3 separate regions of the Homo sapiens genome follow, and all the other regions are linked to region 2. Evidence: promoter capture Hi-C in human tissues and cell types (Jung and others, 2019). All regions are on one chromosome and are shown on one strand. The core of a region is centred on a gene start or on the middle of the fragment in contact, and the rest is flanking DNA. Distances in the headings are between cores, read along the strand shown. Region 1 has its middle 22 kb from the start of LINC01574. Region 2 holds the start of HK3 (hexokinase 3). Region 3 has its middle 9.7 kb from the start of LINC01574.

The links. Contacts are between HindIII fragments. The study calls those that stand out against the background at their distance.
Region 1: a fragment that was not itself captured here is called in contact with the fragment with the promoter of HK3 in region 2 in 2 of the 25 tissues and cell types used here (liver and mesendoderm cells).
Region 3: a fragment that was not itself captured here is called in contact with the fragment with the promoter of HK3 in region 2 in 2 of the 25 tissues and cell types used here (IMR-90 fibroblasts and lymphoblastoid cells).

Annotation. Positions count from the first base shown.
Region 1 is chr5:176,718,963-176,722,707 of GRCh38, reverse strand. No RefSeq gene overlaps it. Among named protein-coding and RNA genes, the nearest start is that of LINC01574, 22 kb to the left of the region's middle. RefSeq lists an enhancer at 1,071-1,570. The HindIII fragment of the contact is 3,324 bases long and covers 338-3,661 here.
Region 2 is chr5:176,897,903-176,901,801 of GRCh38, reverse strand. It overlaps HK3 (hexokinase 3), which reads left to right and starts at 2,456. Exons shown (of 19, transcript NM_002115.3): 1 at 2,456-2,535. RefSeq lists an enhancer at 1,135-1,636. The HindIII fragment of the contact is 11,300 bases long and covers 704-3,899 here.
Region 3 is chr5:176,751,060-176,754,737 of GRCh38, reverse strand. No RefSeq gene overlaps it. Among named protein-coding and RNA genes, the nearest start is that of LINC01574, 9.7 kb to the right of the region's middle. The HindIII fragment of the contact is 5,468 bases long and covers 1-3,678 here.

The DNA of each region.
Region 1 (3,745 bases), core at 750-3,249, 180 kb after region 2:
GCAATGAGCGGGACACCTCCAGGTGGAAATGTCACAACCTGCCATAAGACAACAGCTCAGAGCAAAGAACAAAGCGGCCCGAACCCAGTTGTGTGTGGATGGGCACCGAGAACTCACAGGAGGAGAGGCGAGGCCGGTTTTGGTTCTCTCCCGCCTTGGATCAGTTGTTTCCCCCTGAATTTCATATTCTAGGCTTTAATGCTGCTTGATGATAATACCCAGAGCTGGTGAGGCTGCAGAGACGCAGGGAACAGATGCATTGCGGGGAGTAGCGTGTTTCTAGAGATTTCCAACAATGCTGATTGTCTCAGGCTCCAGGAGCCAGTGGCAGAAAATCCAGTTCAAACTTGGGGTGACTACTGGCTTATAAACCTGAAAAGTCAGGAAGCAGATGGCTTTGGAAACTGCTGGATCCAGGGGTTCAAAAATATCTTCAAAACCTGCATATCTACTAAACTGTGCAGGAAAAAAAATGGTTAATGGTAGTTTATGTTATGTGTATTTTACCATATTTGAAAAATTAAAGACCAGACACAGTGGCTCATGCCTGTAATCCCACCACTTTGGAAGCTGGAGGCGGGCGGATCACTTGAAACCAGGAGTTCAAGACCAGCCGGGGAACATAGGAAGATGCCCGTCTCTACAAAAAATACAAAAATTAGCCAGGTGTGGTGCCATGTGCCTGTGATCTCAGCTACTTGGGAGGCTGAGGTGAGAGGATCACCTGAGCCTGGGGAATTTGAGGCTGCAGTGAGCCGTGATTATGCCACTGCCCTCCAGCCTGGGTGACAGAGTGAGACGCTGTCTCAAAAAAAAAAAAAAAAGAAAGAAAAGAAAAATGTAAAACAAAACAAAGCAAAAAACATGCACAATGCCATGTCCCACTTTAGGCCTTAGGTGACTGCCTCCAACTGGAATACATCGTTCAAGTCGCTCAAATGTCAACTCTTCAGAGGCCCCCTGAAGGCCAGTCCACAATAGCCACGCTCCGTCAGCTACCCGCTCTCACCCCTATGGGCTGTTTCTCTTCTCTGCAGTTGCCACTTTCTGGAGCAATCCTACTTACTCACTTGTTTACCTGTGTGCTTACTGGGCTTAGGGCCTGCTTCTCCCTGCTAGTGTGTCTGGAATTGGTGGGTTCTTGGTCTCACTGATTTCAAGAATGAAGCCGCGGACCCTCGCGGTGAGTGTTAACAGTTCTTAAAGGCCGCGTGTCCGCAGTTTGTTCCTTCTGATGTTCGGAAGTGTTCAGTTTCTTCCTCCCAGTGGGTTCGTGGTCTCGCTGGCCTCAGGAGTAAAGCTGCAGACCTTCCCAGTGAGTGTTACAGCTCATAAACGCAGTGTGGACCCAAACGGTGAGCAGCAGCAAAATTTATTGCAAGGAGCGAAAAAACAAAGCTTCCACAGTGTGGAAGGGGCCCCGAGCGGGTTGCCACTGCTGGCTCGGGCAGCCTGCTTTTATTCCCTTATCTGGCCCCACCCACATCCTGCTGATTGGTCCATTTTACAGAGAGCTGACTGTTCTGTTTTACAGAGAGTGGATTGGTCCGTTTTGACAGGGTGCTGATTGGTGCCTTTACGATCCCCAAGCTAGACACAAAAGTGCCGAGGCCAAGGAGGCACCAAGAGCGAGCGAGGGCTGCGACGACTGCCAGCACGCTGTCACCTCTCACTAGGATGTCAGCACCGTGAGAATAGGGACTCTGTCTTGTTCGTGGCTGTTTCCCCAGGGCCAGGAATGGGCCTGGCACAGAGTGGGGCTTAGCACATAGAGGCAGGAGGAGTAAATGAAGGAAGGTTCTCTCTGCCTCCCTTGGTGCTCTCCCCTTGTGTTGGCACCATCTTCAGGGATTCTCCCTAGACAGTGGCAAATTGGCTGCAGGCAGCTCTGATGTTCGCTGTCAATATTATGTCGATATGACATCAGCGACATTATGGCATCATTCCTGGGACGTCCTCACAGCCCTGAGGGGGAAGAAAGGGCATTGCTAAGTGTCGCAAGGTTGCAAATCATTGGCTCTGACTCAGTCATGTGACATTCCCTGAACCAATCCCTGTAAAGCAGAGATGCAGTACTCTGATTGGCCAGGCCTGATGCCCAAGTCCACTGCTGTAACAGAAAGTCACCTCAGTCCCACTGAAGCGGCACATGGGCACGGGTGGGGGTTCCCCAGGAGAAAATCAGTGAGCCAGCAGCCAGAAGATGGGGCACAGATGTGGGGCAGGCACATCAGGTCAAGGCCACAAATGCCTCAGACACACCAGGTTATGTAACAGGCTGTTACGTCAATATCCCCCCAAATTCCTACGTCAAAGCCCTAACCCCCAGTGTGATGGTTTTAAGGTGGTCAAAAGGAACCTCTGCCGGGCATGGTGGCTCACGCCTGTAATCCCAGCACTTTGGGAGGCCGAGGCGGGCGGATCACTTGAGGTTGGGAGTTCGAGAACAGCCTGACCAACATGGTGAAACCCTGTCTCTACTAAAATACAAAAATTAGCTGAGTGTGGTGGTGCACACCTGTAATCCCAGCTATTCGAGAGGCTGAGGCAGGAGAATCACTTGAACCCAGGAGGCAGAGGTTGCAGTGAGCCGAGATCGCCACACTGCACTGCAGCCTGGGCGACAGGGTGAGACCCTCTCTCCAAAAAAAAAGTAACCTCGGTCCCCTGGTCATGAGGGTGGAGCCTCATGGATGGATTAGTGCCCTTATCAAAGGGACCCCAGAGAGCTCTCTGGCCCTCTTTCTGCCATGATGACACAATAAGAAGTTGACGTCCAAAACCAGAAGAGTGGCCCTCACCAGAACCCCTGCCAGTGCCCTGATCTCTGACCCAGTCTCCAGAACCTTGAGAAACAAACTGTTATGGTTTGTAAGCCACCTAGCTGATGGTGCTTTATTACAGCAGCCAGAAGGCATAAGACAAGGCTCTGGAGAATCCAAGATAGATAAAACTTTAATAAACATTTGCTGAATGAGGACAACACAATCTCTGACTGCTCAGAAGAGCAGGAAGACAGATCTGTGTCATCACAGAATGTGTTTATGCTGAGGGAAGGGATGGTGGTGGGGGCACTGTGTCCCTCCCTGTGAGCCGTGCCCAAGCCCAGGGGCCTGCCTGACCCAGGGATTCCACGAATTTACTCAAAAGGAGAAATAAATGATCTTGCACAAGGACAGTTGTTGCGGCATTATTTGTAATACAGAAAAAACTGGAAACAACCCAAATGTTCCCCGGTAGGGGACTGGTTAACTAAATTATGGAACATCCACTTGATGAAATATTCTGGAGTGGTTAAAAATGATCGTTATGAAAACTACAGAGCAACAAGGGAAAAGGCGTCTGTTCTAACACACAGTGACAGCACAGAATGCCAAACTGTGACCGCAAGAAGCACAAACCACGCGCCAGGCTCTGTGCTTGGGACACAAGAGACTCGCGGGAGCCCTCCTGCCCCCAGGAAGCTCCTGGCCCCGTCAGGGCAGGAGAGACGTGAAAACAAGGAACGACACTTGGGGTGAGAAGGTCAAGGACAGAGGCAGAGAGACAAGGAGTTACTCAGGGTCCAGGAAAGCTGCCTTGGGACCTGTCCTGTGAGCCAGGTTTTATGGGGAGTAACTACCAGGATTGGAGCTATGGACATTTTAGGAAAAGGGCTTGAAGGCAATATACATGGAAAAATAAAAATGAAAATAGTTGTGCCAGGTAGAATTATGGATGATTTCCCCATTTTTTCCCAAAAATG
Region 2 (3,899 bases), core at 1,207-3,706:
GAGCTTGCTTGCTTCCTCTCAGTTTCAAAAGCCCTGGACTTTTTTTTTTTTTTTTTTTTTTTTTGAGACAGTCTTGCTCTGTCACCCAGGCTGGAGTACAGTGGCGTGATCTCGGCTCACTGCAACTTACCCTGCCTCCCAGGTTCGAGCAATTCTCTTGCCTCAGCCTCCCGAGTAGCTGGGATTACAGGTGCACACCACCACGCCCGGCTAATTTTTTTAATTTTTAGTAGAGACGGGGTTTCACTGTATTGGCCAGGCTGATCATGAATTCCTGACCTCAAGTGATCCGTCCACCTCGGCTTCCCAAAGTGTTGGGATTACAGGCGTGAGCCATCATGCTTGGCCAGCCGTGGACTATTGAGATTGTGGGAGGGCTCTTCAATTTAACAAAAATTAATTGATACTTGTTCCTTGCCAGATAAAGAACTGAGGTCTGAGGCTGCACGGGTGAATAAGAAACATTCTCTGGGAGCCCATAGTACAATGGGGAAGAAGAACACATAAACAGATGCCTTTAATAAACAGATATAAATGCAGTGATACAAGAACATGCATCATAATACGGAACCAATAAGCAGACCACACTCAGCTGGGGTCGGCCAGGAGGAGCTTTTCAGAGAAGGGCTCCTCATTGTCGTTGATGATTATAATTTAAGGGATGAGGAAAAATGAGGTGAAAAGGTGGGAGAGGCCAAAGGGAGGGTCATTCCAGACAAGTCAGTGCAAACAAAGACACAACAGAAGTAGCTCGATGTGTGTAGGAGAGCTGCAAGGCACATTCACGGTATAAAGGGTGTGGAACAAATTGGGGGAGCTTATTGAGGATCTCTGTGCCTGGCATGGGCACTGTGAGTGGTGAGAAGCCTGTGAGCAAGCGCAGAGGGAAGGCCTGACCTCCCAGCCCATCGGCAGTGCTCTGGTTGTGCCCACCTCTCCCCCAGCAAACTGCCTTTCCTCATTCCTTAGCTCCATCTCTACAGTTGGAGATTGGCACTAAGGGGCTATGAGGGAACCTCGTGAGGACTTGTCCTTCCCTTTGTTGGTCAGTGGCCATCTGGTGTCTGAAGAGAACCGCTGGCAGCTGCAGTGCCTCTGCTACAGCCAGGCTGTCCCAGCTGCTCACAGACCTCAAGCTCAGCCATCCTTCTCCCTCCACTGGCCTTGACCCAGACTTTCCCTGGCATTCTGACTAGGGAACCAGGACCCCTGCTCCTGGGGTCTGGACACAGACCTTCCAGAAACGCAGATGAAGAGCCCTGGCCATGCTTGTCAGGGGCATATCCTCACCCTGGCTCAAGAAATGGCAGGCTATCTGCATGAATCACAGCTGGGCCTTTCATAGTCAGTTCCACATTCTCCTCTCCCAACTGAACAAAGTTGAAAGGGACTGGGATCCCAGGCTAGGCAGGATGCTGTGTTGTTTGTGACAGCCACTCTACCCTCTGCCACCCCATCCCCCACTTCCCTGCCTTTCACAGCCTATATGCCTGGTTGGTACCCAGTAAACTTCACAGCAGGACTGATGTTTGGCATGTTTCCTGGCCTCTTCATGCCACTACTGATAGAGGAGCCACTATCTCTGGTCTCCATCCTGATGTCATGTGGAGGCCTACTATCTGTGGATAGAGTTACTGCTGACAAGGCAGCCTGAAGCTTTAAAGTGTATCCATGCCTTCAACAAAGATTGTTGCAGGCTGTCTAGTATTCTACATTGGTGCCCCAAGGTTCTGTGCCTTTGAGGAGAAATTCCCACAGAAAAACAGCTTGTTCGCCAATAGCTCCACAGCAGCCTAACACTCCCCTTCTTCCAGTAGAGAAGACCTAAGATGTGAACCTACTCTCCCTGCGCAGGCTACAGACTAAAGGCTAGACTCCGCAGTCTGCCTGTCACCTCCTCTCCCACTATATATTCCTACCTTGGTGTACCCTCTTCAGGCGCCTGGAGCTGCACCTCATTGCTGTGTGTGTGTGATTTGTGGTTGTGCACATGCTCTCCACTTTGTCAAGGACCACTTTTGTCAGCATACTGCTGTTCTTTCTTCAAGACTCAGCTTCTTCAGCTAGCCCTGCCCACTCTCGGCAGAGTCAGTCCCTTCCGCTTGTGCTCCCACATTGCCTCTTGCTCAAAAGTACTTACCATAACCTTTCCAGGCTAGGCGCCTCCAGCTCCTTCTAGGGGCGAGCCACCACCTCAGAACTCACTATATTTGCAAAATAAACAGCCCTCAGCATTGTAGAGGGAATGGCCCAAAATCTTAGACCCAGTTCAACGCTCCACTTCGCGGTAATCATCTTGCTCAAGTTTTCACCACAGCCTTGCCTAGCCTGGGCTACTCTTAGGGCAGGCTTGGAAGGAAGTGCAGCTTCCTGAATTAGCTGATGTTTGGTAAGTGGTGGTGGAGGAAAAGGGTGGGGCTTGAGGATATTATAACTCGGGTCACCCCTGAGTGTTGCTTTTGGTCATTGGGGTGCCTCATATTGCCAGACAAGAGCTCAGACCTGAGGAGAGTGACTAGCTTCTCTGTGTCCCAGGTAAGCACTTCGGTCTAATTACTGCCTGCTCCTTCCACAGCTGTCTTGTCCTCATCCCTCCTGTTTGGCTCACACCAGGGGAAGTGGACACTGGAAAGATTAAGCCAGCTGGTTCTCTTTCTTTGTTTTTGAGATGGGGTCTCTCTCTCTATCACCCAGACTGGAGTACAGTGGCACAGTCAGGGCTCACTCCAGCCTTGACCTCCTGGGTTCAAGTGATCCTCCCACCTCAGCCTCCGGAGTAGCTGAGACTACAGGCGCACACCACCACACCCAGCTAATTTTTGTTATTTTTTTCTAGCGATGGCGTTTTGCCATGTTGCCCAGGCTAGTCTCACATTCCTGGGCTCAAGCAGTCTGTCTGCCTCAGCCTCCCAAAGTGCTGGGATTACAGGTGCAAGCCACCACACCCAGCCTGCCAGCTGGTTCTCGATGGCAGCTCCCAACATCAGTAGAGGTCCCTGGGGTACTTTTCAGGAGGAAAACTCACTTCGTGTAGCCCATTCAGCTAAGGGAAGCCACGGGGCCCTTAGGCAAACAGACCCTGGGCTCTGGGGATACTGCAGTGAAGGAGACATGTCCCTCCCCACAGGGAATCTCAGTGGGAAGAGACAGAGCTGAATACATTTACCTAGCATATAAATATTAGGGCTACTTGGGGATTGCTTCACAGATTCTGTCATGTAAAAATGCTGAATAAATATTGAATGGATGAGGGAATGAATGAGTGAGTGAATGAATAAATGAACTAGCTGGGCCTTGAGAAAGACACGTGTGTAGCCCTTAGTCCTTTTCGAAGGTAATTGCCCCAGTTACCTCATTTTATCCTTGAAATAGACCTGCAGCATAGAACAAGAATTCCACACCCCTATTTGACAGATTTGGAAACTCAGCATAGGTATGTATGGTTTGGGGAGATTTATCAGAAGCTGATTTGTTGCTTTATTAAATAAAAAACTACCCACTCCCCTTGCTTCCAATTTTGGAAAGGCACATTAGCACATACCTATACCAGACCCTGTGCCGGCCATGAGTGCAGAGGTGATCAAGTTGGGTGGGGTAAGGAGGTGAAGAAACTAGAAGCAGAGCTATCAGTTTAGGAGGCTGTTGTAATAATCAGGCCGGAGGATGGTCTGGTGCAGTGTGTGGGAATGGGGAGGAGGGGATGCAGAGGAGAGCTCTTAGAGAGCCTGAGATCCAATTGCATAGAGGAGGTGAGGGTGAGGGATGCGCGCAGGCAGCCCGAACGGCCGTGTGAGTGAGCACACTTCGATGTCTCCAGTCAAGGTGGAGAACAGAAGAGCTTTGTGGGGGTAAGGTGATGGAAAAATGAGTATGGCTTTGTTGAATTTGAGGAGCTTCTC
Region 3 (3,678 bases), core at 1,076-3,575, 150 kb after region 2:
GTCGTATTCTATTGCATGGCATGCTACAATTCATTTATCACTGTCTGATGATGTTGAGCCTCTGGATTTTTACAGATGTTGGCTCTAACAATGACATTATTATGAACATTCATGGATGAATCTTTGTGTCAGAGTTCTAGTTGCTTCACATCCTCACCAACACTTGGTGTGATCAATGTTTTTAACATTAGTCATTCTAGTGGCTGGATGGTAGAATCTCATTGTGGTTTTTTCATTGGCATTTCCCTGATGATGAATGTTGTTGGGTGTCCTTTCCTGCATTTGTTTGACAACCATTTAACTTCTATGGTGAAATGTCTGAACAAATATTTTGCCCATTTAACAAATTGGGTTGTTTATCGTCTTCTTATTGAGCTGTAATAGTTTTCAATCTATTCTAGATACAAGTCCTTTGTCAGATATATATTTTGCAAATACTTTCCCCAGGTTTGCGGTTGGCCTTTTAATTTTTTATCACTGTCTTTTCCTCCCACTTTTAACAGCTTTACTAAAGTCTAATTTACACATTATACAATTCGTCCATTGTAAGTGTGCAGGTCAATGATTTTTAGTAAATAATTTGATTGTTCACCTATCACCACAATACCATTTTAGAACACTTTCCCTACCCCCAAAAGTTCCCCTGTGCCTGTTTATAGTCATGCCTCACTCTCATCATGGGCCTCAGACACTCACTGATATGCTTATTAGATATATAGTTTTGCCTTTTCTAGAAATTTCATATATATATATACGTATGTATGTATGTATGTATATAAACATACAGACTGGGTGTGGTGGCTCACACCTGTAATCCCAGTGACTCAGGAGGCCAAGGCAAGAGGATCGCTTGAGGCAGGAGTTTGGGCCTGGGCAACATAGTGAGACTTTGTCTTTACAAAAAATTTGAAAAACTAGCCAGGCATGGTGGAGGACGCCTGTAGTCCCAGCTATTCGGGAAGCCGAGGTGGGAGGATCACTTAAGCACAGGTGTTCAAGGTTATCGTGAGCTACTGCACTTCAGCCTGGGCAACAGAGTGAGACCTTGTCTCTAAAAATATATACACATATATCCTTTTGTGTCTGGCTTCTCTCACTTAGCATAATGTTTTTGAGATTCATCTATATCTTGTTGCATCTATCAATAACTCATTTCATTGCTGAGTAGTATTCCATTATGTGAATATACCATACTTTGCTTATGAATTTACCATTTGATGGACATTTGAATTGTTTCCAGTTTTTGCCTATTATAATTAAAGTTGTCATTAGCAATCACATGCAAGTCTTTGTGTGAACACATCTTTTCTTCTAGAAGAATTGCTAAGTCATATGGCAAGTATATATTTAAGAAACTGCCAAACAGAATAGTGTCTTTTAAAGACTAAATATTTTAAGCTTAGTGAAGTCCATTTTATTATTTTTCTTGTATATGTCATTGTTTTTGTCATATTTAAGAAAACTTTACCAAACCCAAGATTGCTAAGATTTTCTTCTAGAAGTTTTATAGCTTTGCTTTTACATTTTGGTCTATGATCCATTTCAAGGACCATACATCTAATTTTTTAGGCCTACTTTATGAGGATCATAGACCCTAATTTCAAGGATCATAGACCATTTCAGTTTGTATACGGTGTGAGATAAGGTCAAGGTTTCTTTTAAATTTTATTTTTATCTTTTTACATATGTTTATCCAAGTGTTCTAGCATCAGTTGTTGAAAAGAATATCCTTTATTCATTAATTGCCTTGGTATCTTTTTCAAAAATCAACAGCTGTGGTCTGTTTCTTGAATCATTCTTCTGTTCCATTGATCTAGATGTCTATCTTTATACCAATACCACACTGTCTTGACTATTGTAGCTTTAATAATGTCTCGAAATAAGGTAGTGTAAATTCCCCATCTTATTCTTCTTTTTCAAAATGTTTGGTTATTCTAGATCATTCCATAGAGATTTTAGAATGAGCTTGTCAATCTCCACCAAAAAAAAAAAAAATTGTTTTTATAGATGAGTTTGGGAGAATCAACATCTTAACCACATTGAATCTTCCAATCCATGAACGCAATGTATTTCTGTATTTATATTTCCTTTAATTTCTCTCAGCAATGTTTTGAGTTTTATATGTGCAGATCTTACACATCTTCTGTCAAATTTATCACCCCCTTTTTTATTTTTAGAATTTCCATTTGATTCTTTTTTCTAATAGTTTCTAGTTCTCTGCTGAAATTCCCGTTCTTGTTATCTAGCTTCTTGAATATACTAATTACAGTTATTTCAAAGGCCAACTATGGTACCTCGAATATCTGAGACCACGTGGATATGTTTGTAATGTGTTATTTTTCTCTTGGTTTTCATCCCGTTCTTGTATTTCTGCATTTCTGTTTTTCACTGAATATCAGACATAATAAATGAACATGGAAAAGGTAATTTGAGGCTCTGGATGCTGTTATCCTCCTCCAGGGAGGATTTACTTTAACTTCTGCTAAGCCAGGGGCAGCATCAATCTTAAATTGCATTTATCCAACCAGGAATTAAGATGATTTGAAACAGGCCTGCAGTCCCTGAAAGGGCCGGTTTCGTTCTGGCTAACTTACTTCTAGGGTATAGTGCTTTGGGATCCCGGATGAAAGCCTAGGCTATTTACCAACGTTCTTGCTTTTAGAAAAATTGTTCTGAAATACACAGAACATAAGATTTACCATCTTAACCCTGTTTAAGTGTGTATGTCAGTGCATTAAGTACCTTCCCATTGTTGTGCAGCCATCAGCACCATCCATCTCCAGAACTCTTTCCATCATCCCCAAGTGAAACGCCACATCTATTAAACACTAACTCCTAATTCCACCTCCTTCAAGCCCCTGGCAACTACCATTCCACTTTCTGTCTCTATGAAGGTGATTACTCTGAATATCTCACGTAAGTGGAATCATGCAGTATTTGTCTTCATGCAACTGGCTGACTTCACTTAGCGTAACGTTGTCTAGGTTCATCCACATCGTACCGTGTGTCAGAACTTCCTTCCTTTTTAAAGCTGAGTAATGTTCCCTTGAGTGTATATGCCACATTTTGTTTATCCTTTTTCATCTGTCGATGGGCGCTTGAGTTGCTTCTGCCTTTAAGCTATTTTGTCGTGCTGTTCTGAATATGGGGATATAGATAGGGTCCTTATTTCTCAAGAGGCCCTGGATTCCAGTTTTTGTCTCCCCAGCCCCATGAGATGGCTAACGTGCTTCTCAGCCTCTCAGGCACTGCTCAGAAGTGGCAAACACTGCAGGGGACAGAGCTCTGCCGAACAGCAGGCTCCCCTCTGTGAGCTTCCCTCCTCTCTGGGATCTGGGATCTGGGACCCTTGGTGCCTCTCCAGTATCTTCAAACAGCTGTTTCTGTAGTATTTCATCCAGCCTTCCGAATTGCTCCCAGCAGGGTGATTGGTCTGATGCAGGCTAGTCCATCATAGCTAGAAGCAGATGTGTCAGTATAATTTTAACGTGTGTGTCTATTATGCCCGGAGTTGAGCATCTTTTCTGATGTTTAAATGATGTTTGTATTTTCTCTGAAATCCTTACCCCGTTTTTCGACTGGTTCTTTCTTATTGATTTGTAGGCATGTGTTATACGTCCAGGAATTTAGGCTGTTGTTTTTGATCTAAAAATTGCTTTCTAGGGCCAGTTCTCACTT